7 separate regions of the Homo sapiens genome follow, and all the other regions are linked to region 3. The links are contacts of gene promoters, found by promoter capture Hi-C in blood cells and fetal thymus (Javierre and others, 2016). All regions are on one chromosome and are shown on one strand. The core of a region is centred on a gene start or on the middle of the fragment in contact, and the rest is flanking DNA. Distances in the headings are between cores, read along the strand shown.

What was found. The method cuts DNA at HindIII sites, captures the fragments that hold promoters and counts their contacts. A CHiCAGO score of 5 or more calls a contact.
Region 1: a contact is called between a fragment that was not itself captured here and the fragment with the promoter of NCK2 in region 3, in 1 of 17 cell types (neutrophils). The highest score is 5.3, in neutrophils.
Region 2: a contact is called between a fragment that was not itself captured here and the fragment with the promoter of NCK2 in region 3, in 11 of 17 cell types (fetal thymus, naive CD4 T cells, activated CD4 T cells and 8 more). The highest score is 20.3, in fetal thymus.
Region 4: a fragment that was not itself captured here is called in contact with the fragment with the promoter of NCK2 in region 3 in 2 of 17 cell types (fetal thymus and naive CD4 T cells); the score reaches 6.6 in fetal thymus.
Region 5: a contact is called between a fragment that was not itself captured here and the fragment with the promoter of NCK2 in region 3, in 4 of 17 cell types (activated CD4 T cells, total B cells, naive CD8 T cells and 1 more). The highest score is 10.6, in activated CD4 T cells.
Region 6: a fragment that was not itself captured here is called in contact with the fragment with the promoter of NCK2 in region 3 in 1 of 17 cell types (activated CD4 T cells); the score reaches 7.7 in activated CD4 T cells.
Region 7: a contact is called between a fragment that was not itself captured here and the fragment with the promoter of NCK2 in region 3, in 1 of 17 cell types (naive CD8 T cells). The highest score is 5.4, in naive CD8 T cells.

The regions. Positions count from the first base shown.
Region 1 is chr2:105,316,066-105,319,516 of GRCh38, reverse strand. All of the region lies in intron 1 of TGFBRAP1 (transforming growth factor beta receptor associated protein 1), which reads left to right. Among named protein-coding and RNA genes, the nearest start is that of TGFBRAP1, 12 kb to the left of the region's middle. The HindIII fragment of the contact is 4,217 bases long and covers 1-3,451 here.
Region 2 is chr2:105,337,748-105,341,511 of GRCh38, reverse strand. C2orf49 (chromosome 2 open reading frame 49) reads right to left here. Exons shown (of 4, transcript NM_024093.3): 2 at 1,763-1,929. Among named protein-coding and RNA genes, the nearest start is that of C2orf49, 2.1 kb to the right of the region's middle. The HindIII fragment of the contact is 1,249 bases long and covers 1,281-2,529 here.
Region 3 is chr2:105,743,051-105,746,915 of GRCh38, reverse strand. It overlaps NCK2 (NCK adaptor protein 2), which reads right to left and starts at 2,004. Exons shown (of 5, transcript NM_003581.5): 1 at 1,778-2,004. RefSeq lists enhancers at 694-743, 844-913 and silencers at 1,284-1,673, 1,784-1,843, 2,034-2,353. The HindIII fragment of the contact is 4,864 bases long and covers 367-3,865 here.
Region 4 is chr2:105,357,114-105,361,011 of GRCh38, reverse strand. FHL2 (four and a half LIM domains 2) reads left to right here. Exons shown (of 7, transcript NM_001318895.3): 7 at 1-186. It also overlaps a transcript of C2orf49 not described here. Among named protein-coding and RNA genes, the nearest start is that of C2orf49, 22 kb to the right of the region's middle. The HindIII fragment of the contact is 6,495 bases long and covers 1-3,898 here.
Region 5 is chr2:106,147,168-106,151,001 of GRCh38, reverse strand. All of the region lies in intron 5 of UXS1 (UDP-glucuronate decarboxylase 1), which reads left to right. Among named protein-coding and RNA genes, the nearest start is that of UXS1, 45 kb to the left of the region's middle. The HindIII fragment of the contact is 1,002 bases long and covers 1,251-2,252 here.
Region 6 is chr2:106,181,869-106,185,715 of GRCh38, reverse strand. The region is part of intron 1 of UXS1 (UDP-glucuronate decarboxylase 1); the gene reads left to right. Among named protein-coding and RNA genes, the nearest start is that of UXS1, 11 kb to the left of the region's middle. The HindIII fragment of the contact is 342 bases long and covers 1,860-2,201 here.
Region 7 is chr2:106,205,442-106,209,318 of GRCh38, reverse strand. No RefSeq gene overlaps it. Among named protein-coding and RNA genes, the nearest start is that of UXS1, 13 kb to the right of the region's middle. The HindIII fragment of the contact is 1,721 bases long and covers 666-2,386 here.

The sequences.
Region 1 (3,451 bases), core at 248-2,747, 430 kb after region 3:
TTTCACCATGTTTGCCAGGCTGGTCTCAAACTCCTGACCTCAGGTGATCTACCCACCTCAGTCTCCCAAAGTGCTGGGATTACAGGCGTGAGCCACTGCGCCTGGCCTACAAGCCTCTTTTTATGTCTAGATTATCTACTTAAAATATTGCTCTTGGCCAGGCGCAGTGGCTCACGCCTGTAATTGCAACACTTTGGGAGGCTGAAGCAGGCAGATCACTTGAGGTCAGGAGTTTGAGACCAGCCTGACCAACATGGTGAGATTCCCGTCTCTACTAAAAATGCAAAAATTAGCTGGGCAAAATGATGCACGCCTGTAATCCCAGGTACTCAGGAGGCTGAGGCACGAGAATCGCTTGAACCTAGGAGGCAGATGTTGCAGTGAGCCAAGATTACACCACTGCACTCCAGCCTATGTGATGGAGTGAGACTCTGTCTCACACACACACACAAAAAAAGGCTCTCATTCCACGTTTATTCTTCCTGCTGTGACTTTTTTTTAATGAGGCCTGTCCTTGGTGAGTTTTAGTATAGAGGAAATGGAAAGAAGAGTAAGATAGTAAAACCAGTTTTGAACTGGTTGAAACTGAGAGTGGAGATACTTATGTGGCCCTGGAAGTGGAAGGGAGAGGGACAGAGGCCCATGAGGTAAGGGGCTAGCCTCACAGAAGCTGCTGCCCCAGACGGTATACACGCCCATGGGGCAGGGTGTTCGCCCCCTGAGCCATCTACCACATGCTGGTCTTTCCCTTTACCTTCTAGGGTATGTTTATGGGAAATGATGGATGGAATGCCCCAAATTGGACTTTGATATCCTGAGAAATGGCCATTAAATATGGATATAAAATAAGCTAAGCACTGCATTTAGATAAACTAAGAAATTATAAATCACTTATTTGTTTGATAAATGTGCTTCCATGCAATGAAATTTTTAACAAGGAACATACAGTTTGTGAATTCTACCAGGTTTATTAAACAGATTCTTTCTCTATTTCCAGGGTAAGCTGGTTTGGGGAAATGAGTAGAATTTTATACATTCTACATGTACGTGTATATTTTTAATTAATATTTAATGCCTATAAAAATATATTTGTAATCTGTATAAGATATAGAGAGTCATAATAAAAGCAACCCTCAGCTTCAGAAATAAAACATTACTGACCGTTGGGAATCTCATGCACACCCATACCCAGTCCCATCCTCCCCGGATTTGTGTTCATCATTCCCTTAAGATTCTCTTAAGATTCATCCTTGTGGGCGGCTCTAGTTCATTCTCTTGCAGCTGTACAGTATTTCAGCCTTTGGAGGAAACATGAGGTGTTTCTAGTTTTCCTGTGTCTCAAACAGGATTGCTGTGGACTTTCTTTGCCCTGGTAAGCACAAAACAGACTCAGTAAGGCAGATGCCTAGGAGTAGAGTCATGGCTTACTCAGTCATGGCAGGGGCTTCCTAGGTAATGATAACCTGTCCTTACCAGCTCCGAACCTTCCCCTGGCATGGTGGAGCCTCCTCATTGTGCTGTGTTCTTAGGAACACCTCATGTTGTCAGACTTCAAATATTTGTCAATTTAATGGGTAGAAAATGAAGTATCATTATAGGTGTAATTTGCAAATTCCAGGTGCTAATCAGGTTGTGTTCTTTCGTGTTTATTGGATATTCATGTTTCCTCTCCATTGAAAGGTCTGTTTGTGTATTTCGCCCATCCTTCTGTTAGATCCTTGACTTTCTTGCTGCAGGAGTTCCCACATCATCCAGATGTTTCTAGTCAGATACATGATGTCAGTGTCTTCTCCCTAGCCCCCTTTTCCCCTTATCTTTTCACTTTCTTCATGGTGTCTTTTGAAGAACAGAAACAGTACATTTTCACATGGGAGAATTTATCATTTTTCCTTAGGGTTTGTGCTTTTTTATATCTTATTTTAGAACTTCTCCCTTACCCTAAGAAGGTCATGAGAATATTTTTTCATGCTTTTTTTCCAGTGTTTCAAAGTTATGTCTTTTATACTTAAGAATATTAATCACCTGGAATAATTTTGATGTGTGGTGTGAGGTAGGAATCTAGCTTTCTTTTTTTTTTTTTTTGAGATGAGTCTCACTCTGTCGCCAGGCTGGAGTGCAGTGGCACGATCTTGGCTCACTGCAATCTCCGCCTCTCAGGTTCAAGCAATTCTCCTGCCTTAGCCTCCCGAGTAGCTGGGACTACAGGCATCCGCCACCATGCCCAGCTAATTTTTGTATTTTTAGTGTAAATGGGGTTTCACCATGTTGGGCAGGATGATCTCCATCTTTTGACCTCGTGATCCTCCCACCTCGGCCTCCCAGAGTGCTGGGATTACAGGCGTGAGCCACTATACCTGGCAGAATCTAGCTTTCTTATATTTTCTATGGACATCTAGTACATACAAATACTGTACTTGTATTCCTATGGACATACAAGTACTGTTTACTGTACATGTGTATACACGGTATATGCCCCACATGTACAGTGCCAACCTAGTCAGGTTTCAAGTTTCCACATATGCATGGCCTGTTTCTGGGCACCCAGTTGTGTTCTCTAGGTCTGTCCTCGTGCTAGTCCAACATTATCTTAATTACCACGGTTTTTGATTATATTGTATATGTTGAGTCAAGTCTCCTGACCTTTTTTCATAAGTGTCTAACTTTTTCTGGCCCTTTCTGCCATGTGAATTTTTTTTTTTTTTTGAGACAGAGTCTCACTCTGTCACCCAGGCTGGAGTGCAGTGGCATAATCTCAGCTCACTGCAACCTCCGCCTCCCAGGTTCAAACGATTCTCCTGCATCAGCCTTCTGAGAAGCTGGGACTACAGGTGTGCACAGCCACGCCCAGCTAATTTTTGTATTTTTAGTAGAGACGGGTTTCACCATGTTGTCCAGGCTGGTCTCGAACTCCTGACTTCAGGTGATCCACTTGCCTCGGCCTCCCAAAGTGCTGGGATTACAGGATTACAGGCATGAGCCACTGCTCCCAGTCTGCCATGTGAATTTTAGAATCTGCTTTTTGAGTTATGTGCGCGTGCGCGCGCGCGCGCGCGCACACACACACACACACACACACACACACACACACACACACACTCCCTATACCTGTAAGAGTTTGTATTGGAATGGCATTTTTTTTTTCCTCTGGATCAGGTAGGGGAATTTTTTTTTTTTTTGTAAAAAACATAATTTGCATACAGTAAAATACACAGAACATAAAGGCACAAGCCAATGAATTTTGATAATTCCATACACTTGCATAGCTAATACCTTAAATAAAATACAGACTATGTCTGTCACCCAGAAAGTTCACTGTGTCCCTTTCCACTTACGCATCTAGTTCCTTCCAAAGTAAACACTGTTCTGATTTCTGTCGCTATAGATTAGCGTGGCCTACTTTTGAACTTCAGATAATTGGAAATATACAATATAGGCATGATTTCTTCCACTC
Region 2 (3,764 bases), core at 656-3,155, 410 kb after region 3:
GCACAGGGCTATGTTGCTATGGACCTGGTCCTAGCTCTGTGTGACCTTGGGCATGTTACAGCACTTCTCAGGATCTCAGTTCCTCCACAGATAAAATAATAAGTAGTTCAACAATACAAGATGATCTCTTGGATCCTTCCAGTTTTAATGCTCTGATTCAATTGTGTATTTAAAAAATAGAGTCAAAGATCCTTTCCAAAATGATTTTGGGGGACTAATCAAGACAGTTGTACAAAGATTGCTTCAAAGGAAAGTATGACTGGCACATAAAGTTTTGCTTACTAGAACAATATGCCTGAATGTGCTGATCAAGAGGAAAATACTGGCTGAATAACAGCAAAAGTAAATTAAAAGCCATATGCAGTGTAACCCATATTTATGAAAGTTAACACCACTACATAGTCTGTACTAGTAAGTAAAGTAACCATCAAGCTAAAATGGTCAATCTAAAATGCATTCTTGATCAAAGGTCAGACTGTGTGTGTATTTTCCAAAAGACAATGAGCAGACATGTATTCTTCGACTATTCTTCATAATTGGAGAATAATCTCAATCATTAAATTTTTCTTTGTAAAACAGAGATTAAAACTCAGAGGAACATACTCCCCTTTACCCCTACCCTCCTACTCTGTCTTCTCTCACTGCTTCTAGTGGATTGCCTATGACGGTGCCTTACAAATAGAAGGCCCTAAAAAAAAATTAATTGATCAATAGTATCCACTTGAGATATAATAGACACAGAAGAGTTCACTTAAGGATCTTAGGACACTTTGTACTTATTAACCAATCAACAACACTGATTAATCAAATGTAATTTTCTTTAAAAAAGAAAAAATCACTTGCTTGTGGTTTTATAAAACTGTTTTTGAAATTAAATAATTTTAAATAGCATAACTTAAGCTAGTTAACAGGCCCTTCATTTGTGTATTATTCAAAGACCTTAGAGTTTTACCTGACTTGACTTTTTCCTCAAAATTCAGGAAATCCTATTGGCTCTATCTTCAAAATACATGCATGCTCCAACCCACCAAATTTACTATTGTAGTCAAAGCTGCTGCCATCTATTGCCTGGATTACAGTACAGGCTTCTAATTTGTTTCCCTGCTTCCAGTCTTATACACACCGCTTCCCCTCCCCACACACCTTAAATCACTTCTTAGGACAGCAGCCAGAGTCATCTTGTCAAAATGTACATCTAATGATGTCACCACTCTGCTTAAAACCTTCTAGTGGCTTCTCATCTGAGTACAGCCAAAGTCCTTACAATGACTTACAAAGCTTTACATGATCTGACAATCTCTCCCGTTTGCCCCCAGTACAACTCGTTCTTCCTACTTCTCCATCCAGCCCTGATAGCTGCTTTGTTGTTCCTGGTATATGATGGGCACATTCCAGATCCAGCCTCTTGTATTCTGCCTGGAATCCTAGCTTGTTTTCTTCTTCCTACAGGTCTCTCTACTAAAATGTCATTTTTCACTAAGATCTTCCTGGATAATTTACCAAAAATTGTAATCTTTCTCCCTGGCCTTTATTACTATATAACAATACCATATTTTAACTGTTGTTATGTTTCTCCCATCAAAAATATGAGCAGGGAATTTTGTCAGTTTTATTCACTGCTATACGCACAGTGCCTGGTGCTCAATAGATAGTCATTGAGTAAATAAATTTTTTACTTAAGTTTATCTCAGGAAAAATCAATAACTTATATATAACTTTAGTTATATAAGATAAATTGAAAGCTAGAACCACCAAAAAGTACCTTTTAGTCTCATTTTTAATCTCATGTTGTTCTCTTTTCTTTTCCATCATTTTCCCCCATCTATTCTTCGGCAAATCCCTCTGAGGCAATGGTATTGCATGTTGGACATAAAGGTCAGTAAGACTGTCTTTGTTTACTCTTACATCAGTTTCAACAGCTATGTTCTTCTGCGGGAAAGGAAACAAAAGTAATTTCAAAACAATGTTTTTAATTTTAACAAGTAACCACCTTACCTAACATGGTAAAACATTACTGCTTAAATAACAAATTATAAAAAGCCATTTTCACAATAACACGCGCACTTAGAGACAGTGTTAAAGGTTAAATTCTGTAGATACTAGGTTCAGCCTCATCTTAAAAACAATGGTCATATTTTCTCAGTGTGACAGGGATTGCTGTCCACAACTGCTCAGCCAACACACCAAGCATGAAAGATCATTTCCAGTAAAATTATCTTAATATACAAAGGGGATTGAAAATGGGAGACTGCCTGTTGACAAAAGAAAGCTAACAATGATTAACAATCACCACATTCTGTCAATAAGCTACCTTGAGTGTTACTATCATGATCAGATTAGTGGGATGAAGGTCTCAGTCTGTCTTATATTTCTCGTGCTTCTCTAATCTGGTGCTTCCTAAATTGAAGTTAACTACCAAGATTTCAAATAATACCACAAATAGAAACTGTTATTCCCGTACTGACGACAGTAGCAGTACATCATTAGAAAAGCCTGCACCCCATTTTCACTGGTCCTTTCAAGTAAGCTTCCAGTCATTGTCCAACCATCTCTATCTAAATCACCAAATTCTTCCTCATTTTCCAATTTGTTCTTGACATCATGAAAAACATAGCATAAGCACAGGAGTAGTCATGAAGACAGAGTTTGGATTTAAGAAGGAGAAATGAGAATGGAAATGAGATCACAGGCTCTTCAATTTCAACTCAGAAAGGCTTGAAAACATTTGTGTTTAGTACCACCGACAAGCCTATATCCTCTAACAAAAACTAATAAAAGCACATTTTACTTCTCTTTCGTATATTAGACTCATCTATTTTTAGCCCGTACTCGCTCAGAAGTAGGGGAAACTACCAGGATTCTCTTGGACAACGTTCCCAGAGAATTCATAAGCCCATTACTTTGGAAAGTATTGCCTTAGGACAGTGGTGGTCAAAGCATGCTTTCTGGGCCAGCAACAAGCTCGTTAAAAATGCAAGATTTCGGGCCACATTCCGGAACTACTGAACGAGAAACTGAGGACGGAGCCCAACAATCTGTGTTTTAGCAAGTCCCTCGACTCATTCTTAAGTACCTAAAAAGTTTGAGAACCACAGGTAAAAACTTACTGACATAATTAAGCTCTACGTGGCAAGAGGACCTGAAATTCAACAAAGATAGGGTACTAAGGGGAAAGCCATATGAAAAACAACAAAATACGCTACATAAACCCCAAGGAAACTTCCAGTAATTCTCTATCACTTAAAACATCACTTTTTTCCTTTCTCACTTTTCTCCTATTATCAGAGGCCACACCAGCTGGAAAAGAGCACGCACTACATGGAGAGCCAGGAGCCCTGAATTCTCCTCCCGGAAGTACCATTTACAGATGTTGTGACCTTAAACAAGTCACTTCATCTCTCTGGAACTGTTTTTATCATCTTTAAACGATTAGAAGGTGTGGAATGGACGGTTTCTCAGATGCTTTCCAGTCCTGACAGTCCATGATTTCTACATTCCATGTCTATTCCACGCTTCTTTCTTCCTCAGGTCGGGGCTTACACACAGGCAGGGGGTGTCGCCTGGGACTCCTCTTTACAAGCCATCGGGACTCAGATAGATAAGCCCTATTTCCCAAGCATTCCTGATATTCTACGGACGTCTCATTTTTGGAGAGGGGGCGAGGAGCAGGAGCGAGGAGACAGCTGCCTGGTCTGTGTGGGTGGAGAGTGACACAAACCCGGCGGGAGTGTCCGTGGTTGCCGAGGGCTACTTAAGGCAAGCTC
Region 3 (3,865 bases), core at 755-3,254:
CCGGGACAGGAAGTGGGCCAGGCACCTCCACAGCTTCCTATGCCTAAAGTTCTCCATTTCAGCCTCAAGTAGCCGCCAGAAGACCACTAAGATTCCGCCACCTTCTCCAATCAAAACTACATCTAACCAACCTCCAGGGCAGAATATACTGAGGTAGGATTTTCCCTCGTGTTCACTTCTTCACAAGCAGGTTAACACTTGCTTCTCAGGAAACCCCTGTTCCAAACGTCAAAAAACCTCCATGTCTAGCCCAATCTCCAGGTGAAGTCAATTTCTTCTCCACGTGTCCGATGACTGCCATTCTCTTTACGTAAAACTCGCAAGGCTTGAATCCTGTTACTAATTCACCTGCTTATCTATGAAGCTTGCAAAGTGAATTGAGGGAGTGTTCACACGCACAGTTCCGTTTTGGTAAGTTAAAGCGGCCCAGGTTAATTTCATTTTCAGTCACTTTTGAGACTTGATAACTACATCTAAAACAGAGGCATGAAAAACACCCTGAATCACTTTCATTCCTACACAAAATCCCTTCCGAGAAGCGGGGACTGCGCCTGGGCCAGGAAGGGACTCCCCTACCTGTAGGTCCCAGCAAGCCACGCCCACCGGCCTCTCAGGGTTGTTTCTTTCTGGGTCGAGGGACGGAGCTGGCCCTTGCGATATTTTAGGCCCCCTCCTGCCCACACTGGGGCCTGCTCATCCCATTATGCAGATGCAAACTTGGCAGAAGCAGCCTTAAACCTGTTGGCAAAATAAACAAAGCCAAATAAAGAGGAATCTGCCAACCTGAATTGTGTGAAGTGGCCAAGGCCGACTCCACGCACGCTCGGCTTTGTCCCTGAAGCTGTTACAATACTAGTTTAAGTCAGGTGCCTGGGGTCCACCAGCCAATGACCCCTAGCATCCACCGCAGACCTTCACAGAGATCCCCATTGTCTACAAATTAAAGCGTTTTGCAAATTAAACCCCTCCACACAATGCCAAGCTAACTGTGCTCATAAGGCAGTTACCCTCCATGCCTTAAAACTCACATATCAAATTTTTCCAAAAGCACTCGGTGATTAAATCGCCCTGAAAAAAACCGAGAGAGCCGAGCGATTGTGAGAAACTTTGGTTCATTCAGGTGGCTGTTAGAGTCCTGTAAATCTGGGGCAGGGCGCAGAGCCTGAAGCCGGGCACAAAAGCTCCCTTCGCCGAAGCGAGGACCTCCTTTATGCAATGTGACAGCAGCTTTGTGCGCGAACATAAATAGTTGTAATAAACACGGTTAAGTTCTCCCGGCCGATCGCGGCCTCCCCCGTCCCTGCGCCGGGGCCCTGCGATCCGCGGCTATTCTTCCCCGGCACACGCGCCCTGGCGACCCTGGCCACCGCACGGTCCCACGCTAGCCCCGAGCTCCGTGCCGGCCGCCCGCCTGCAGGCCAGGCGCAGCCTGCGCACCCGGGGGTCTCCAGTCCCCGGGCCCCGCAGCCGGGCCCCCTGCCCTGATCCTCGCCCGCGCCCTTGGCTGGCGTCCCCGCCCCTGGGCCGGCCCCCGATGGTGGGGGTTAGGGATGGGAAGGCGGGCAGGAAGGTGCAGAGCCGGGAGGTGCCCGGCAGTCCGCGGTCGGGGGCGCCCAGGCCGCGGCAGGGCCGAGAGCACCGGAGGGGCGCGGAGGGGACCCGCTCTCCTGGCCCCTTCCCGGGCGCACCCCGGCCCGCGAGCCCCGCCGCGCTCCCAACTCCGCCCAACGGCCCCAAGTTTGTGGCCCCCGCCCCACGCCCGCCTAGCCGCGCTTACCTCGCCGTGGGCCGCCCGCGGAGCCGGAGGGCAGCGGCGCGGGTCCCGGGGCGGTGGCCGCGCTGCGCCCGCCCAGGCGCCGCTCTTTGTCTGCGCCGCTCCCTCCTCCCGCCGCCGGGCGGACGCTGCCGGCCCGGGCGGACCCTGCCGGCCCGGGCGCCGCGAGCCTCCCGGCCGCCAAGCCCTCCCCTCCGCCCGCCGCCCGCTCGGCCGCGCGGCTCCGGCCTGACGATCCCCGCGGCAGCGGCGGCGGCGGCGGCGGCGGCGGCGGCGACCCTCCCCCGGCGCGCAGCGCCCGCCTCCTCCGCGCTCTTCCTCCTCCTCCCGCGCTCCTCCCCGGCCGCGCCGTGACGCCGCCCAGGGGCCGGCCCAGGCCCGGGCGCGCGGGGCGGGGACCCGAGACCCACCTGGGGCGCCCCCCGTCGTCGCCAGGCTCCGCGCCCGGGTCCCGGTACGGGCGCCGGGATAGCGCGGGGCTGCGGGACGCTCCGCTCTGGAGGCGCAGCACGGGCCGGGCGCCGGGGGCAGGAAAGGGTCCCCACGCCCGAAATTGCGTGCGGGCGGTGGGGGGCAGGGTAGGTGGGTGGGGAGGAGAGTGAAAACACAGACGGCAACTTCCAGCCTGGGATGACTGCCGGGTGGGCTTTGCGTCCTCTTTTTTGTTTGTTCGTTGTTCTTATCACGAAGCTCTAGTTGCTGGGCAGCCGCCCCCCTCCCGGAAGCATTCCCACGGCACTCAGCTAAGCAGGCCTGTTGTCCATCAGAAAAGTGACTTAAATAAAAATGTCACTTCCTCCCTGTAATTGCTTGTGGGCATTTTTATTTATTTGCTTTGCATCTATTTACTTTCCCAACCAGACACATTTTTAGTCCATCATCCCTGTCCGAGGCACTTCCTAAAAGAAGAAGAAACTCGACCTCTGTTGCCTCCCAGGCATCCAGGCCAGCCCCAGCCTGTGGAATCCTGGTTGCACACCCGTGGGGGCAGAACCCGAAGAGGAGCTGCCCGAATGTGCCCCTAGAAGGAGTGTCGCTAATGATGGGACCGTTCAGCTCACCCAGCCTCGAGTTGTGGCTAGCCTATAAACAAACTTGGAAGATGAAAACCCAAGAGCAAGGGGAAAGACACAAGTTTCCCTTTCACAGACACATGCATCCGGATGTCTTTTCTCCTCCCCATATGGTTTCCCAAAGGAAATCCTAATATTCAAATGATTCTGATTTCCTGGCAGGATAGCCTGCATCCATGTTAATGAGATTCTTTCTTAGGCTCCTGGTCTCTGCTTACTATTAAGGCAATAATAATTTACCCAAGGTTACAAGGCTGTATTATTTGATTCACTCATCTCCTGCTTCCTTCCAGAAGGGAAGTACCCAAGGATAGGTAACTAGAGTCAGCGTAGCTTTGAAGTCAGACAGGTGAGTGTTTGACTGTTGACTTCCTGAACTGTGTAACGTTGCACAGGTGGTCCTCAGCCTTTCTAAAATCTGTCATATGGGGAGATAATATTTACTTACCTCCTATGTGAAGTACCCTGGCAGTAGGTAGCCCTCAATAGCTCAGTAAGTGGAAGGAAGCACAGTACACTGAGCAGGAATCAGGTACAAGCTCAGGGAATCAGAACAGCCTCATTTTTCCTTGTTTTGACCTTGTGAAAGAAGCTACTTCAGTTCATCCTTTTGTGCAAGTTTTGTGTTACTAATATCTAGCTTTACAATAAGAAAAGAAGAATTCTAGTCATCAGTCTGCCCAATTTTAGATTAATTTACTCAAAATAAGTATAGCAATATTGACCCAGTTTGTAGCTTGTTTGCTTTGTAAACTTTCACTGAATCGTGGTTCTTGCATGCCTCTTCTTTCTCTGATTCTTTAGAAGTCACCGATGTCATTCTCTATCTAAATCCAGTGGCCCTTTATCAATCTTTATCCTGTGGAGTTTTCTGAAATATGTGGCATTTCTGCTATTTCCTGAAACACCATCATCTTTTCATTCATCAAACACAGCCAGTTCTGATTCTCTTACCTTTCTGACCTGCCCATCTGCCTCCTCTAGAGAGGTTGTTGTCTTCCCACCCTGTAAAAGTGAT
Region 4 (3,898 bases), core at 890-3,389, 390 kb after region 3:
GAATGATGCCTTTATAAATCTTTCTCTCACTGTCTATTTAAGTGCAATTAACATATGTCACGAACTTGAAAGTTTTCTAAACTCAATAAGGTAATGACCAGTTGTTATTTACAGCTCTGTAACCTCCCGTTGCGTCAAGTCTAAACCAAGATTATGTGACTTGCAATAAAGTTATTCAGAACAGAATCTTTTGCCAGGCACAGAGTGTGAAATCATGATTACAGGTCGAGGCACTGAGTCTAAGTAACACTTTATTGCATGGTCCCATGGTCACTGTATGAAGTGCAGTTCCAATGTTCCAATGGCCTGGGGCATTGCCAACTGGAACAGCATCACACCCTTTAAAGGAAGCCTTCGGCTGGGCACGGTGGCTCACGCCTGTAATCCCAGCACTTTGGGAGGCCAAGGCGGGTGGATCATGAGGTCAGGAGATCAAGACCATCCTGGCTAACATGGTGAAACCCCGTCTCTACGAAAAATACAAAAAATTAGCCGGGTGTGGTGGTGAGCGCCTGTAGTCCCAGCTACTCGGGAGGCTGAGGCAGGAGAATGGCATGAACCCGGGAGGCAGAGCTTGCAGTGAGCTGAGATGGCACCACTGAACTCCAGCCTGGAAGACAAAGAGACTCCGTCTCAAAAAAAAAAAGCCTTCAGTCAGCACCAGGCACCTCTTCCTTGCTACCTTCTCTCCCTTTTTTTTTTTTTTTTTTGAGACAGAGTCTCGCTCTGTCGCCCAGGCTAAAGTGCAATGGCACAATCTCAGCTCACTGCAACCTCCACTTCCCGCGTTCAAGCGATTCTCCTGCCCTCAGCCTCCTGAGTAGCTGGGATTACAGGCACCCACCATTATGCCCGGCTAATTTTTGTATTTTTAGTAGAGATGGGGTTTCACCATGTTAGGCTGGTCTTGAACTCCTGACCTCAGGTGATCCACCTGCCTCGGTCCCCCAAAGTGCTGGGATTATAGGCATGAGCCACCGCACCCAGCTACCTTCTCTGTCTTTCCCATACTCTTTCTCTTGGAATGTAATCCTCTGCATTTGACACAGTAACATAAACTGACAGTGAAGCCAATTTTCAGGTCATTTTTCTTGGCAGAGCTTATCGGCTCTGTCCCAGTGTTATGGATCCACATCTTACACCGACTTCCATAAAGTGAAAGATTGCACAAGGACATAAGCAACTTGAGGCCAGAGACGACATCCTGTTCATCTTTATGTTCTCAACACCCTCGCAACTGAGGGCACACTGGGAGCCTTCAGTGTTTCTGAAAAGGGCAGTAAAGCAGGAGAGACACACAGTCATTACAGTAAAAATAACATTCTGAGCTACTAGTGTGGCAGTAGTCTGTGGAATAATCTCAGATAGCAGTATACAGTTGGGAAGCACGGAGCCAATGTATGGGATAGAACATTGCACAGTTCTCTTTAGAATGGGAGCATCAGTGACCTTTTTGTCCTTAGTTTTCTAAGACAATGCAATATAATAAAATGATAGGCTGAGCAACAGAAAAATTTGGTGGAAATCAAGTCTGATATATGCTGAGCATATGTGAAATCAGTTTCTTAATCTGAGTGTTAGTCACTGTTAGAATGTTTGATAATGTCTGGAATGAGTCTTTTGGTTTTATAGTTGACTTGAGGTTTTGCTTAAAAAGAATAATTTCATCCTTTGTTAGTTGTTTTGCTGTTTTCTACTTCATAATATAAAAGTAAAAGCACTCCAAATTTCATTTTGGAACATCTTACTTGTTCCTCATTAAAACCATAGACTCTCCCAACCTTAAATTACCCATTCTAAAATTAATGGTTAGGGGGAATTCCACTTCTAGTAAATAGCTCCAATTGGACTAATTCTCCTCCAAATTAACAGTCATTCTGGACAAAATATTTATTTAATTGTTAAGAACACTGGAGCACGATCCAAAGCAGGCAGATATTGGAGGGCAGTAGACACTTGGAAGAAGAGAACGACACTGGGTGATTTTCCTGTTTCGGCCTTTTATCCAATGGCAGGCCCCCGCCAGGGATCTAAAACTCTGTTAGGAAACCTGCAGTCTTACTGGCCTGAGGAACCAGAGGCCAGAGTTCGGGACAAACAGCCTCTGGAAAGTGAGGAAGAAAATCCTGAAAAGGAGAGCCCCAAGTTCGTCGCATGAACTTAGAAATTTCTGGCTGACAACTGAACCGTGTATACTTAGGCCAGACTCCAAGCAGCCCAGCCAAGGCTAAAAGCATTGACTGACAGGACTTTACAGATAGTGGTTTGCAGGGCTTAGCTGACCGACCCTCTTCCTACTGAAGGAAATTACTTGTATATAAACCACACAACACAAAGTCTCTGAAAATTTCCCCAGAAGCATACAACAAATAAACATTCATTCAGGAAAATCCACTACTAAGTCTTAGAAAGAACAGTGAGTCTGTGGCATTTGAGCCACAGCCTCATCCTATCCCATCCCCACTCCCCAGCTTCATGTGACAAACTCTATTCTGGACCAATGCAGCCAAAAATTAAGGGGTCTCTCTTCCTCCAGCTACCAGTCTAGGGCTTTGCCCCAGGTGCGACAGGCTGAGAATCGTAGAGCTCCAATTGCCCCTACCCTAGCCTGCTTAGTGCGGAGGCTCCACATTGGGAGGGGCAATCTGAGAAGACCAGCGGCTATCAACCCACTCACAGAGAAGGGATGTCAGTCCTGGAGAAGCAGGCTGCTGTCCAGCCCCCAGAGGAGATCCAGGCTCTGAGACTGGTAACCCAGCAGTTATGCCCAAGGGGACTGGTATTTGGTACGGAGAACGAGAAATCTTTGCCTAAGGGGATTGTCAAAAACAATAAGACATCTTACCAGTGAGCCATTAAGGAAGGGGCTGGTAACTCCATGCTATTAGTAGCAAAAAGCAAAATGACAGACCAGCCAGAAGTTTAACACAGAAAACCAGAGAAAGAGATAGCCAAGAAGAGCCCTCCTGGAATCTGGTTTATCCTTGAGGTTCGGGAAGTATGTATGGACAGGGCTGTATCCACTCAGGAGCAATCAGATGTGAAACAAACTTGAAAGCATTCTCTAAGGCATACACAGATCCATCAGCAAAGAGCAGAAATCTTATTAGCTCAAAGTGCTTAAGCAGAACCTCTGACCAAACACTGGCTGAACACATAAATGTGTTTGTTCAAAGAACTAAAGGAAATCATATTTAAAAAAGGAAGGTAAAGGAACAATTACAGTTGTTCCTCCATATCCATGGATTCCTCATCTGTGGATTCAACCAACTGTGGATCAAAAGTATTTAGGAAAAAAAAAAAAAAGTTGACACAGTTCCAAAAAGCAAAACTTGGATCTTCCACATGCTGAGTACTATGTTGAATCCATGCAAATGAAGTGATGTGTAAGCATTGTATTAGGTATTATTATAAGTAATCTAGAGATTTATTTAAAGTATACAGAATGATGTGAATAGGTTATATGCAAATTCTATGCCATTTTATATGAGACTTGAGCATCCATGGAGTTTGGTATTTGTAGGGGGTCCTGGAATTAATCCCCCACAGATACCAAGAGATGACTTTACTCACCAAACAAACCAATAAAGAGATAAAAATTATTTTTAATAAATCAAATGGAATTCTGAAGTTGAAAAGTATACTAAATGAAATGAAAAATTCACTAGAGGGGCTCAGTAGTAGATTTGAGTTAGGAGAAGAAAACCAGTGAACTTGAAGACGGAACAACAGAAATTATACAATCTGAAAAACAGAAAAAAGAGTGAAGAGAAATTAAAAGAGCCTCAGAGAAATGTGAGAAACCATTAAGCATACCAACATATGTGTAATGGAAGGACTAGAAGGCTAGGAGAGAGAAAAAAAGAACAGGAGAAAATATTTTTTCAGAGTTCATGAC
Region 5 (3,834 bases), core at 502-3,001, 400 kb before region 3:
CCAAGTAAGTCCAAAACCCAACAGGGCAAACAAGATCAAATCGTAATGCTCCAGATAATCTTTCTTGACTCCATGGCCTGAGTCCTGGGTACGCTGGGGTGGGGGTTGGACCTCCAAGGCCTCTGGGAGCCCCAGCCTTGTGGCTTTGTTGGTCTCAGTCCACCTGGCTGCTCTCGCGAGTTGGAGTTCTGTGCCTGTAACTTCCTTAGGCTGGTGTTACATGCTGGTAGCTTTACAGTTCCGGAGTCTTTGTGGCAGCTGTATCACCGCAATGAGTCTCTGCCTACCCCCCGCCACCTCCCACCCTGTCCCGGGCTATTTGTGACATCCTTTGAAATCTAGTTGGAAGAAGCCATGTTCTCATGGCTCTTGCATTCTGCACACTTGCAGAATTAGAGCACCACGTGGACACCACCAAGGTTTACAGCCTATATCTTCCGGAGCGGTAGCTTGAGCTGCACCTGGACTGGCCGGAGCCACAGCTGTGCTGGCTGAGGAATGCTAAGGGGAGCAGAGACTTGTGGCAGCACAGGGCAATGAATGGTGACCTCGAGCACCTCTCTGGAAACGTTGGCCTCAAGGTCTCAGCTTGCCTGGAGGATTTCTGAAATGCCTTCAGGGTCATTCTCCCATTGTCTTAAGGGACAGAACCTGGCTTCCTTCTAACCATACTACTCTGTGTATCAAAGGGTCAATTGTCTGCACTCTTGCACACTTTTTCATTCTTTATATGGTAAGGCTGGGGACTTAAAAAATTTTTTTTGTTCTGTTTCCCTTTTAGTTATACAATCTGTCTTTAAATCATTTTTCTCTTCCCTTGTTTTACTCTATGTAGTTAAAAGAAGCCATGCAATTCTTTTAATATTTTGCTTAGAAATTTCTTCCACCAGATGTCCTAGCTCATGGCTTGTAAATTTTGCCTTCATAAAGCCAGAGGACACAGACACATTTCAGCCAAGTTCTTTGCCACTTTGTAACAAGGATAGCCTTCACTCCAGTTTCCAGTGGTATGTTCCTCATTTCCATCTGAGACCTCATCAGAATGGCCTTTACTGTCCATATTTCCACAATTGTTCTGATCACAACCATGTTACAGGTAATCTCTAAGAAGTTCTAGACTTCCCCCACAGCTCTTCTCTTCTGAGGCCTCACCACTGTTTCTTTAACACTCCATTCACAGAAGTCTAGGCTTTTTCTAGCATGCACCTCCAGATTCTTCCAGCCTCTACTCATTACCTAGTTCCAAAGCTTTTTCCACATTTTCAGGTGTTTGTATAAGCATCATCCCACTTCTCTGGTACCCATTTTCTGTCCTAGTCCTTTTTGTGCTGCTATGACAGAGTACCTAAGACTGGGTAATTTATAACAAATTTATTGGCTCATGGTTCTGGAGGCTGGGGAGTCCAAGATCAAGGGGTTGTGACCTGGTGAGGGTCTTCTTGCTATGTCATCACGTAGTGGATGGGTAAAGAGAGAGCAAGAGAGAGACCAAAGGGACTGAACTCGTGCTTCTATGTGGAACACACTTCCACGATAACACACTCACTCCTCTGATAATGGCATTAATCCATTTACTTCACCTCATGGCCTAATCACCCCACCTTTTAACACTGTTGCACTGGGGATTAAATTACCAAAATGTGCTTTTGGTGGACACGTTAAAAGCACAGCAGCACTGTTACAGGAATGCTGCAAAATCTTGCCATGAATTTTATTATGTGCACATGGAATGATCTTCCTGTCGATGCTGAGTATTATAGAATTTATTTTGCTTTACACATCACCACAGCAAACAGACTTAGTTTTTTTTTTCCCCTCATCTGCCATCTCATAGGTTAAGCACATTTCTGAGGCATTTGGCATGTGAGTCTGGTATATTGTTGCTATAACTTAAAGCCTTTTCAGTAAATTGGTAAGCCTTAGGACAGCTTCAACAGAAAGAGGAGACTTGCTTTGAAATACATTTTTTGATTTTTTGCTAATTTGCTAAGCATCATGAGTTTGACTGCTGACCTTGAACTAGACCACTTTAGCTGCCTATTGGCACCCACAAGAGCGAGCAAGAAAGCACACTGAGACAAACCCCTATACTGGAAAGCCATGCAAAGCCGTGTAAGTTCTAATCCATCTCAGTGTAAGAGGTCTTACTTCTTTTCTCCTGTTCTCTTTTGGGTATTAGCTCCTTGTTATTCAAAGAATATCCTTGGGTTTGGTGATTAGTGTTCCTGATAGAGCTTTGTAAGTGCTAAGCTTTCACCAAATTTGTTTCTATTTGAAACACTTGCCTAATGGGCTAACATTGATTAGGATAAAAAATTGCATAACCATCCAGCTATATTATATAAATCTTAAGTATTTTAGGTAGAAGGAAATTACTTCAGAAAAAAAAATTCCAGTGCATTTTAGTCAAGCTAAGGTGCTTCCAACAATTTTACGTCAGTACTAAGACTAGTGAGATGTTGGAGATGATCATGTGTAATTTAATACGCTGCATCTCTGATATCTCAGAACTGTCTGCCAGGTATTTTGGGTGCAGAGATAATGTTAGAGTGCCACTGAACATTTTGTTTTCAGAAATATTTGCATATAGAGAAACAGTTATGTTAAAAGGGGTTACATTTCTTTTTAAAAGTTGCAAGTTTTTAAATGTAAAAATCATGGAAAACTTGGAAAAAATGCAATAACGTGAAGATAAAATGAAATCTCATCCCGTGAGTTAAGCTCTAGTGGTGAGTCAACTTTGAATTTCAATTATTTTTCTGGAAAATCGTTTTTCATAGTCATTGTTCAGGTATAGCAGTAGAATGTGGGAGCTCTTAAGATGAAACACGAACCAGACAAATTGACAGGCAGTAGAGAGCGTGTAATTAGAAAGACTGTAGCTTTAGTGTGTCCCAGCTAGTGATCTCTGAGGATTTTAGTCAAAGACGTAACTTCTCTGGGTGTCAGTTTCTTATCTTGAAGGCAAAGGGGATTTGGAAAATGGTGCTGTTGGTAAAGCCAAATGAAAGCTATCGAGCATGAGGATGCCTGGTCTCACCCATCCTGTCTTAACCATTTGATTTGCATTTCATCAGAGCATATGTAATATCTATGTGGTGGTTAAGGGATGGTTATTCTTGAGGTTGGCCTTGTTAACTGAAAAACCAAACTCTAAAATATTTTAGAGGTGTATTATGATCCAGTATGAGTAACTGCAGCCCCAGGAAACACAAAACCAAGAAGCCTTGAGTAAGTGTGCCCGAGGCAGGCGGATTAGTTTAGTTTTATACATTTTAGAGAGGCAGAAGTTACAAGGAGGTATAAATCAATATATAGGGCTTTTACATTGGTTTGGCCCAAAAAGACAGGCTATTTTGAAGTGGGGGCTCACAGGTATAGGCGGGTTAAGAGATTCTGTATTTTATTTTATTTATTTTGAGACAGGGTCTCTCTCTGTCACACAGGCTGGAGTGCAGTGGCACAATTGCCACTCACTGCAGCCTTGACCTCCCTGGCTTTAGAGATTTTTTACTTTGTAATTGGTTAAAGGAGTAAATCTTTGTGTAAAACTTTGGAGTCAGCAGAAAGGAATCTAAGTTATGACAAGGAAGTCTGTTCACCAATACACTGGGTCAGAATGACTTGGAGGGATGTGACTTAGCTCCTGTCTGGCACGACCCTAGGTCCTGTTTATGATCTCTGTTTTAATATTAACGTTGGTCAGTTGTGTCTAAATTCCAAAAGAGAAAGTATAGTGAGGCATGTCCAATCTCCTTTCACATCACTGCTGGGAACTCAGCTTTTCAGGTTTCTCTGGGGTTCCGTTTGGCCAAGAGGGGGCCCACTCAGTTG
Region 6 (3,847 bases), core at 781-3,280, 440 kb before region 3:
GTCTTGAGATCTTTAATTACAGCTAAAAAGACCTTTTTTCCAAGTAAGATAACAATCACAAATTCTAGGAATTGGAATGTGGACATATTTTAGGGGGCACCGTTAAACTCATGGTGATCTTTCTTTAATCACTGTGGACCCGTAGCTTCTTTTAGTCTTTGAGCACTTCCTTAATGTCTAGATGTTTCAGGCTCATTTTCTTTTTCTACCCCAAACCTGGAATCAGCCTTCTCTCCAAGGAGCCAGAATTGAATGGAATCATTGGCCACTTGCTTGGTGTCTAGAGAGTGGGAGAATTGGTTGGTAGTATGGGAAAAGCACACACACGTGGTATCAGAAGTGTTCTGTAGGTAGAAACAGGGTTTAAGACTTGGGCATCTTTATTTTCAACAATTTTCCCATTTTCCACCATAGTTCCTAAGAAAATGGACAAGGTAAAGTAGTCAAGGTAAAGTGCTGAGTACCATGAGAGAAATGAGATCTGGGACTTGGAGAGAATGGGATGCCCTTAAGACCTGGGGCATTGAGTTGGCATTTAGCAGAAGGATACAATTTGGGCAGTGGAGTTGAAGGTGAAAGTGATGGAATGAGCAGAGGCTGGAGTGACACAATGCCAGGAGCAGGAGTCTTTGTGGCCCATAAAGGCAGAATGTGGAAGTCTGACCTGACATAAACTTGATTTAATGACATGAGTAAGCCCTCCATAAGAATTTGTGCAGCATGAGAGAGATTTTGATGAACATGCCTGAAGTGTTCAGACATTAGGGCAGGGCAAAGTATAATCAGTTTTGCATTTTGGGGTTGGCCCGTGTGGCCTGAAATGTGCTTTGTGGTGTGCATGTCTCCTGAGCTGCCTACCTTTTGTAGATATGTGACTGGATTCTAGTCCTGGTATATGATATGTATGGTACTTCTGTACAGGCCAGTGCTGTGATCTGAATGTTTGTGTCCCCTGGAATTCACATGTTGGAACCTAATCCTTGAAGTGATGGCATTAAGAGGTGGGGTATTTGGGAGGTGATTAGGTCAGGAGGCAGAGCCCTCATGCATGGGATAGTGTCTTTGTAACAGAGGCCCAAGGGAGTTCATTCCTCCCTTCCACCATGTGAGGATACAGCAAGAAGGCACCGTCTGTGAATAGGAAGTGAGCCCTCACCGCCAGTGTCTTGATCTTGCACTTCCCAACCTTCATAACTGTGAGAAACAAATTCCTGTTTATTAGCCACCCACTGTGTAGTATATTTGTGATAGCAGCCTGAACATGGACTAAGACAGCTGAGAAGTCAAGAACATGTCTGATGTGAAGTTGGAGAGCTTTCACAAATAGATATGTTGAATAGGTGAGGCCAGTTACCAGATTCTTCATGTGTACTGAACCCACATTAATGTCTACTGCAAATTTCTTGTCTTGCTTTTTGTCTTACAAATATGACAAGTCCTAGGAATTACCTGAAGGGTAAATGTGGGGAGGATTAATTCAGGGTCAGCCCTTTTCTTTTTCTTTTTATACTTTTATTTTTTTCTGAGATGGAGTTTTGCTCTGTTGCCCAGGCTGGAATGCAGTGGTGCGATTTTGCCTCACTGTGACTTCTGCCTCCCAGGTTCCAGCGTTTCTCCTGCCTCAGCCTCCTGAGTAGCTGGGATCACAAGCGTGCGCCACCACGCCCGGCTAATTTTTGTATTTTTAGTAGAGATGAGGTTTTACCATGTTGGCCAGGCTGGTCTCGAACTCCCGACCTCAGGTGATCCACCCACCTCGGCCTCCCAAAGTGCTGGGATTAGAGGCATGAGCCACAGTGCCTGGCCAGATCATCCCTTTTCTGAATAAAGCGGTCTCACCCTATCACGTGGTGCAAGCTTTCTAACCTTCTGTTTCAATTTTTTTTTTCCATTTGTAAAATGAAAATACTCCTTTGCCTTGCAGGTAAAAATAATTTGTTTTAAATACTGTGAGGAATTGAAGGGATTTCTCTAAAGAGCTGATAACTTCACTTGATGAGCTTCAAGGGAAAAAAGGTGTGGGTGTGTGTTGTAAAGTAACCTGCAACATGGAGGGACTCCTTCCAGGCAGGAAGGGCAGTGACGGCCAGCAAGTGGGAACTTCTCCTCTGAGGGGGGCTGAGGGTTTCCTCATCGCCCTGCATTTAGAAGGGCCAAGAGTGAATTTGGAGTTAATCCATCAGTTTCTTTTTGGTTAAGCTTTTTAGAGTTGCTGTAACCAAAATAAATAAGTGAAGTAAAGCAACAGCAGAAAACGTTTGAACTTCAAAGCAGTCTTTTTCAGAGGGAGTCTGGATGTGCTAGAAAAGGAAAACAATTTTGTTAGGGTGGTGAGATCTTGGAATGTTATTCTTAGTATCTTTGAATATTTTTATAGTATTTTTAGAAATTGAAAGCAAAGCCTGCTGGTTCTAAGTTAGAATTTGGTTGACATATATACTGGGGGTGACCTTGCTTTTTTTTTTTTTTTTTTTTAAAAAAGACTTGAGCAGGCAGCTGGGTTTTATCAGCAACAGAACATTGGTGGTGTAGGATGGCTTGGTTGTAACCAAGGGAAAGAACCAAGTTATTCTGACACTCATCAAAGGGGCTAGTGATGGCTCTGGTGGAAATGGCCATTAGCTGTGAATAATGGATCCTCGTAAACAGGGCTTCTCAGCAAAACTCATACATTGCCAAATCAGGATCTTTTTCTTTTTTTCTTTTGGTTTCTTTTGCTGTTCTGTGGAATTTAATTCTGATTCCCTGCTCCCTTACCCCAGTGCATCCTAATTATTTAAAAAACAGAATTTCTATCCTAGGTTCTTAATTCAATGAGAGGACCCCACTATCCCAACGGAAGCGCTCTCTGCCCTCCTTAGGCTTCACCTTGCCTGCGTTCCCACCCCACCCCCACCCACCAGTGTAGATGCTGAAATGCAGCCCTCATTTTGGGCAGGAGAAGCAGCACCCAACTATCCTGCAGTGAGGCGTGAAGAGGGGAGATGTTCTCTCCATTTCATAGGTGGGGAAACTGAGGCATGGAGAATGAGCCCAGAGCACTGACAGCCCTCTGGGTTGGGGCACAGCTGTGGTGGCTGAGGATCATGCCCGTGGGTGCTGTGGTTTGGAGATGGTCCTCCTAGATCCCTCTCTCACCTTCTTTCCCTCTCTGCCCTTTTTGAACACAAAATGAAAAGGCTAGCTTAAAACCATTATTAAAATTTTTTAAGCTCCCATTTGAAAATTACAAAATACAGGAGAAATGAGAAAACAAGGTGCTCAATGTGGAAAAGCTAGAGAATGAAGTGCAAAGAAGAGAAAAATCCCAGACCTCATAATTTCTGCATATTAAATTGCCTTCCCATCCAGAAATAGCGCCTAGCTTTTCTTTACCAAACTTGTTCAAGCCACTGCCCGCGGGCTGCATGTGGCCCAGGACAAATTCATAAACTTTCTTAAAACATTATGAGTTTTGTTTTGCTTTTTTTGCTCTTCAGCTATTGTTAGCGTTATATGTGGCCCAAGACAATTATTTTTCCACTGTGGCCCAGGGATTCCAAAAGATTGGACACCCATACTTTAGATAGACCTTTCTTTTGGCCCTCAGCAAAGTTTTGTAATTTCTTTCTTTTGTGAAGTGTATTTCCATCAAATTTCTCTTTCGCATTCATTCTACATCAAGATCAAGTATCAAATATATTACTAACAAAACTTCTTAACAGTAAGCAATAAAATGAGCCCTGAAGTCATAATCCATCTTTTAAAAAAATTTCTCCTTTGCCTTTTGCATTAATCCTTAAGTTGTATACTTTGTTCCCATCTTCTTCTTAACTTTTAGAAAGTGCCCTACTTTCAGAAAGAAATA
Region 7 (3,877 bases), core at 277-2,776, 460 kb before region 3:
AGCTCAGCTCGAGCCATAACAAACACGGACCAGAAGAGTGTGCACTTGCAAGATTTAATAGAGTGAAAACAGAGCTCCCATAAAATGGACCCAAAGGGGGTTGCCCCGAATTTCTTGTTAAGAGGCTATTCCTCCTCTGGGTTTTCTTGTGCACACTGGAGCTGGACCTCTGCCGAATGCTTGTTAAAGCTGATTACAGACCAAGGGCTTATCTACAGTACAGTTCACTCCTGTTGTTTGAAGGATAAGTTAGATATGAAGGCATTTCCACATTGATGACAGGCATAAAGTTTCTCCTCCATGTAAGTTCTCTGGTGTTTATAAAGTTTACAGCTACTGCTGAAGGCTCTTATGCATTTATTACATTTCTAATGTAGGTTCTCCCAGGTTGTCCATAGTCAGAGAATTGACTGAAGGCTTTCCCACATATCTGACATTCATATGATTTTTCTCCCCTATAATTCTTATTTTTGGTGTGTGTGTAAATCAAGTGAGAGCTCTTGATACAGGAGATAGAAAGAAATTATTTAGGCAGATAGTGAGGGCAAAAGAGTCCTTGACAGAACTTCCCTTCTAACAAAAAGCAGCCCAAGAAATCATTCCTTTTTTAACAAAGAGAAGCCTGAAAGATTGAGCTGCAAGCATTGATAAGGAAGCTGGAAGCTTGCACTGGGGGAGGCCTATAGCTACACCCACAGAAAAGGGCTACCTGGGGCCAGGCATGTCCACCATGGGGCTCCACCTTCCCTTTTTTTGTTACCATGTATACAGTCCGAAAGAAATAAGCAACATGGAGTAGCTACCCACCTGCATAATAAAAGATTGGGGTGGGGGCTGCCAGAGATTCATGCCCTGTGCAAATGGCACAATTGGTCCTAACCAGATTTTCATGCCCTATGTAGATCAGACACCATCTTCCCATTAGCTCATCTATAAAAACCCCCTGCATTTCACCAGAGATTGGCAACCCATTTTCCTGGGACCCCTCTCTGTAGGAGAGAGCTATCCTCTTTCTTTCACCTATTACAGTTCTGCTCTAGACCTCACCCTTGTGTGTGTCCGGGTCCTTAATCTCCGTGGCCATGAGACCAAGAACCTCCCCCCAGACAACAAGGCCACTTCACTGTGATCTAAAATCCTGGTCACAGTTACTTTATTTCTTTAGTGCAAATTCTCTTATGTTTACTAACCAGAAATTTGACCACACTCTTCCACATAAATGACATTCATATCATTTCTCTCCAGTGTGAATTTGCTTGTGTTGACTGAGGGATAAAGGATAACTGATGGCTCTTCCACCGTCATTACACTTACAGGATTTCTCTGCAGTGTGAATTATGTGGTGTGAATAAAGCTGAATGCTCAGGTGGAATTCTTTCCCACATTTACTATATTTACAGAGTTTCTCTGTCATGCAAGTTCTTTGGTGTGAATAAAGGTTACACTTTGTCTGAGATGCCTCCCAAATTTATTGCATTTATAAGGTTTCTCTTCTGTGTGAGTTCCATGGTGTGAATAAATTTGGTGTTCTGACCAAAGTGTTTCTCACAGTAATTCCATTTAGATGGTTTATCTCCAGTGTGGATCTTCTTGTGTTGTCTAAGGCCAGAGTATGTACTAAAGACTTTTCTACATAGATGACATTCATATAATTTCTCTCCAGTGTGAGTGGGCTCCTGTTGTCTAATGTAAGATCAATGATTAAAGACTTTCCTGCATAGATGACATTTATAAGGTTTAACTCCAATGTGAGTTGATTTATGTCAACGAAAGGACTAGCAGTCACTGAGAATCTTTCCACATTGATTACAGGCATGGGGTTTTTCCATGTGGGCTATCACATGCTGAGTCAATGTGGAGCTGGGATGGAGATTTTCCCACACTCACTGTATTCAAGGGCTCCTCTCCAGTGTGAGTTCTCTGTTGTTGGGAAGGTGACAGGCTGCTGAAGGACTGATTACCCTCATACTTTCATTAATTTCTCTACAGATAGATTCTGGAATGATCATTTCGTGATAGTCTCCAGTCAAAATCACTTCCATATTGCTATATGCAAATGTATGTTAGTTACACACAGACTCTCTTGCTTGCACAGATATTTTCTCTTTTGTAGCATCTCAACGGTATAACTATCTGATGTATTTTCAAGGCTTCATTATTTTTCAAAGATGAGGTATCAGCCATGTCTATGCAATTGTCCTTTTATAAAGAATTCAGGTTATAATTTTGAGCTCAGGTTAATTTCTTTCCTAAATTCAAATATCCAAAACCATATGAAGGGACACACTCCCAGCTCTAATTAAAGCCATGTGACTGTGGTGTGTTCCTAACTCAGCCCATCCCCAGGTCTCTAATCTGGAGGAACAGGGTTCACCCCCATGAAGCTTATCATTGACAAGCAGGTAGAGGGACTCCTTCCTCCAGAGAAAGTGTATGGATACCATTTCTTGTTTTTAAAGGCCACCCTGCCTGCCTAAAATAATTGAAAAAATTAAATTGCTAGACTGGCATTAGGAGAATGAACACACTGAAAAGGATACAAGGCTCACGTGGGTAGGTTTCAAATACTGGCTCTCACATGGGAGAGACGTGAAATGGAGGAATACACCAGTGACTAGGAAGACATTTGGGGAAATTAAAAATTTTAAAGTATTTTCAAGAATGAAGAGAAAAAATAAAGATGTAATATTGGAGAGGTCATGAAAAGGAAAATCATCAAAGGGAAAGGACCAGGGCAAAGGTCACAATGTGAAAATTTACCTCTAAGAAGACATGAATATATGTGAATGAAACTGGTACATATATGAGAAATAATAACATTATATATGGAATTTTTCTCCCAATGGCTTCTCATAGTTTTCTAAAAATATTATTCATTCAAGGTCATCTGCATTCGACATTATCAAAGTTCTGTCCCTCACTGACCAGTCACCTCCTGCACTGAGCCTATCTGTCTGCAGCTCACCTGGATTTGGGCTCTGGGGAAATCCTTCCTTCCCTCCACAGCACTGCTCCTTGTTTCAACTGGGAAATCATGAATGACTTGCAGAGCTGATGCTCTCTGGGCAAAGTTGCATGGATTTTGAATTCTGTGTGAGAACTGTGCGTGATCTTCAGATCTAAGGCAGGCTCCCAACAAGACAAGGCGAGCATGGAAGGGCACCCGGGGAAGAGCACCTTGAACACCAAGGACATTGAGGGCCCTTCCCTGGAGCAGGAAGGAAAACCCCTGACACCAAGCCCCTGAGTCTCAGCAGCAGTGAAGATTTAAATGTTTCCACAGTGGGTTGTGGAATTTATTCTCATAATTAATGCAATAAAATTAAGATCCATTGGAACAATCTAGGTTCTATTTGGAAAAGAAAATGGCTATATTTTTATTACTATGGTCTCAAACCCTAGCTTAGTGCTTAAAACAGTATTGTCACTTAGTAAAAAATTTAATCCATTTATTTATTCAAAAAAATAGTCATTGAGGTCCCAGCACTGTTCTCAATATTGGAGATGGAGTAGTAATAAAGACACAAAACTGTGGTCAGGAAGACGTGTTCTAGTGGTTGATAAACTAGATTTAAGTAAACAAACAATGTTCAGGCAGTTGTAAGTGCTGTGAAAGAAAACAGATGAGGATAGAGACAAAGTAGCGTACGTGGAAGCTGCCTGGCCTGACAGGCTGAGCACCTGGTGAAACCCTACCTCCATACCCGACCTTCAGCACCTGCTGTCACACATCCCTGTCACCTGTGGTCACCACACACCTAAGACCCCTGCAGCCACTGACATGGTTAACTGAGTGACTCATTTCCCTATCACGGCAATGGATGGATGAGAAAATGACAACCCTTCACTTATGTTCCCTGAAAGGACATCCTCAATG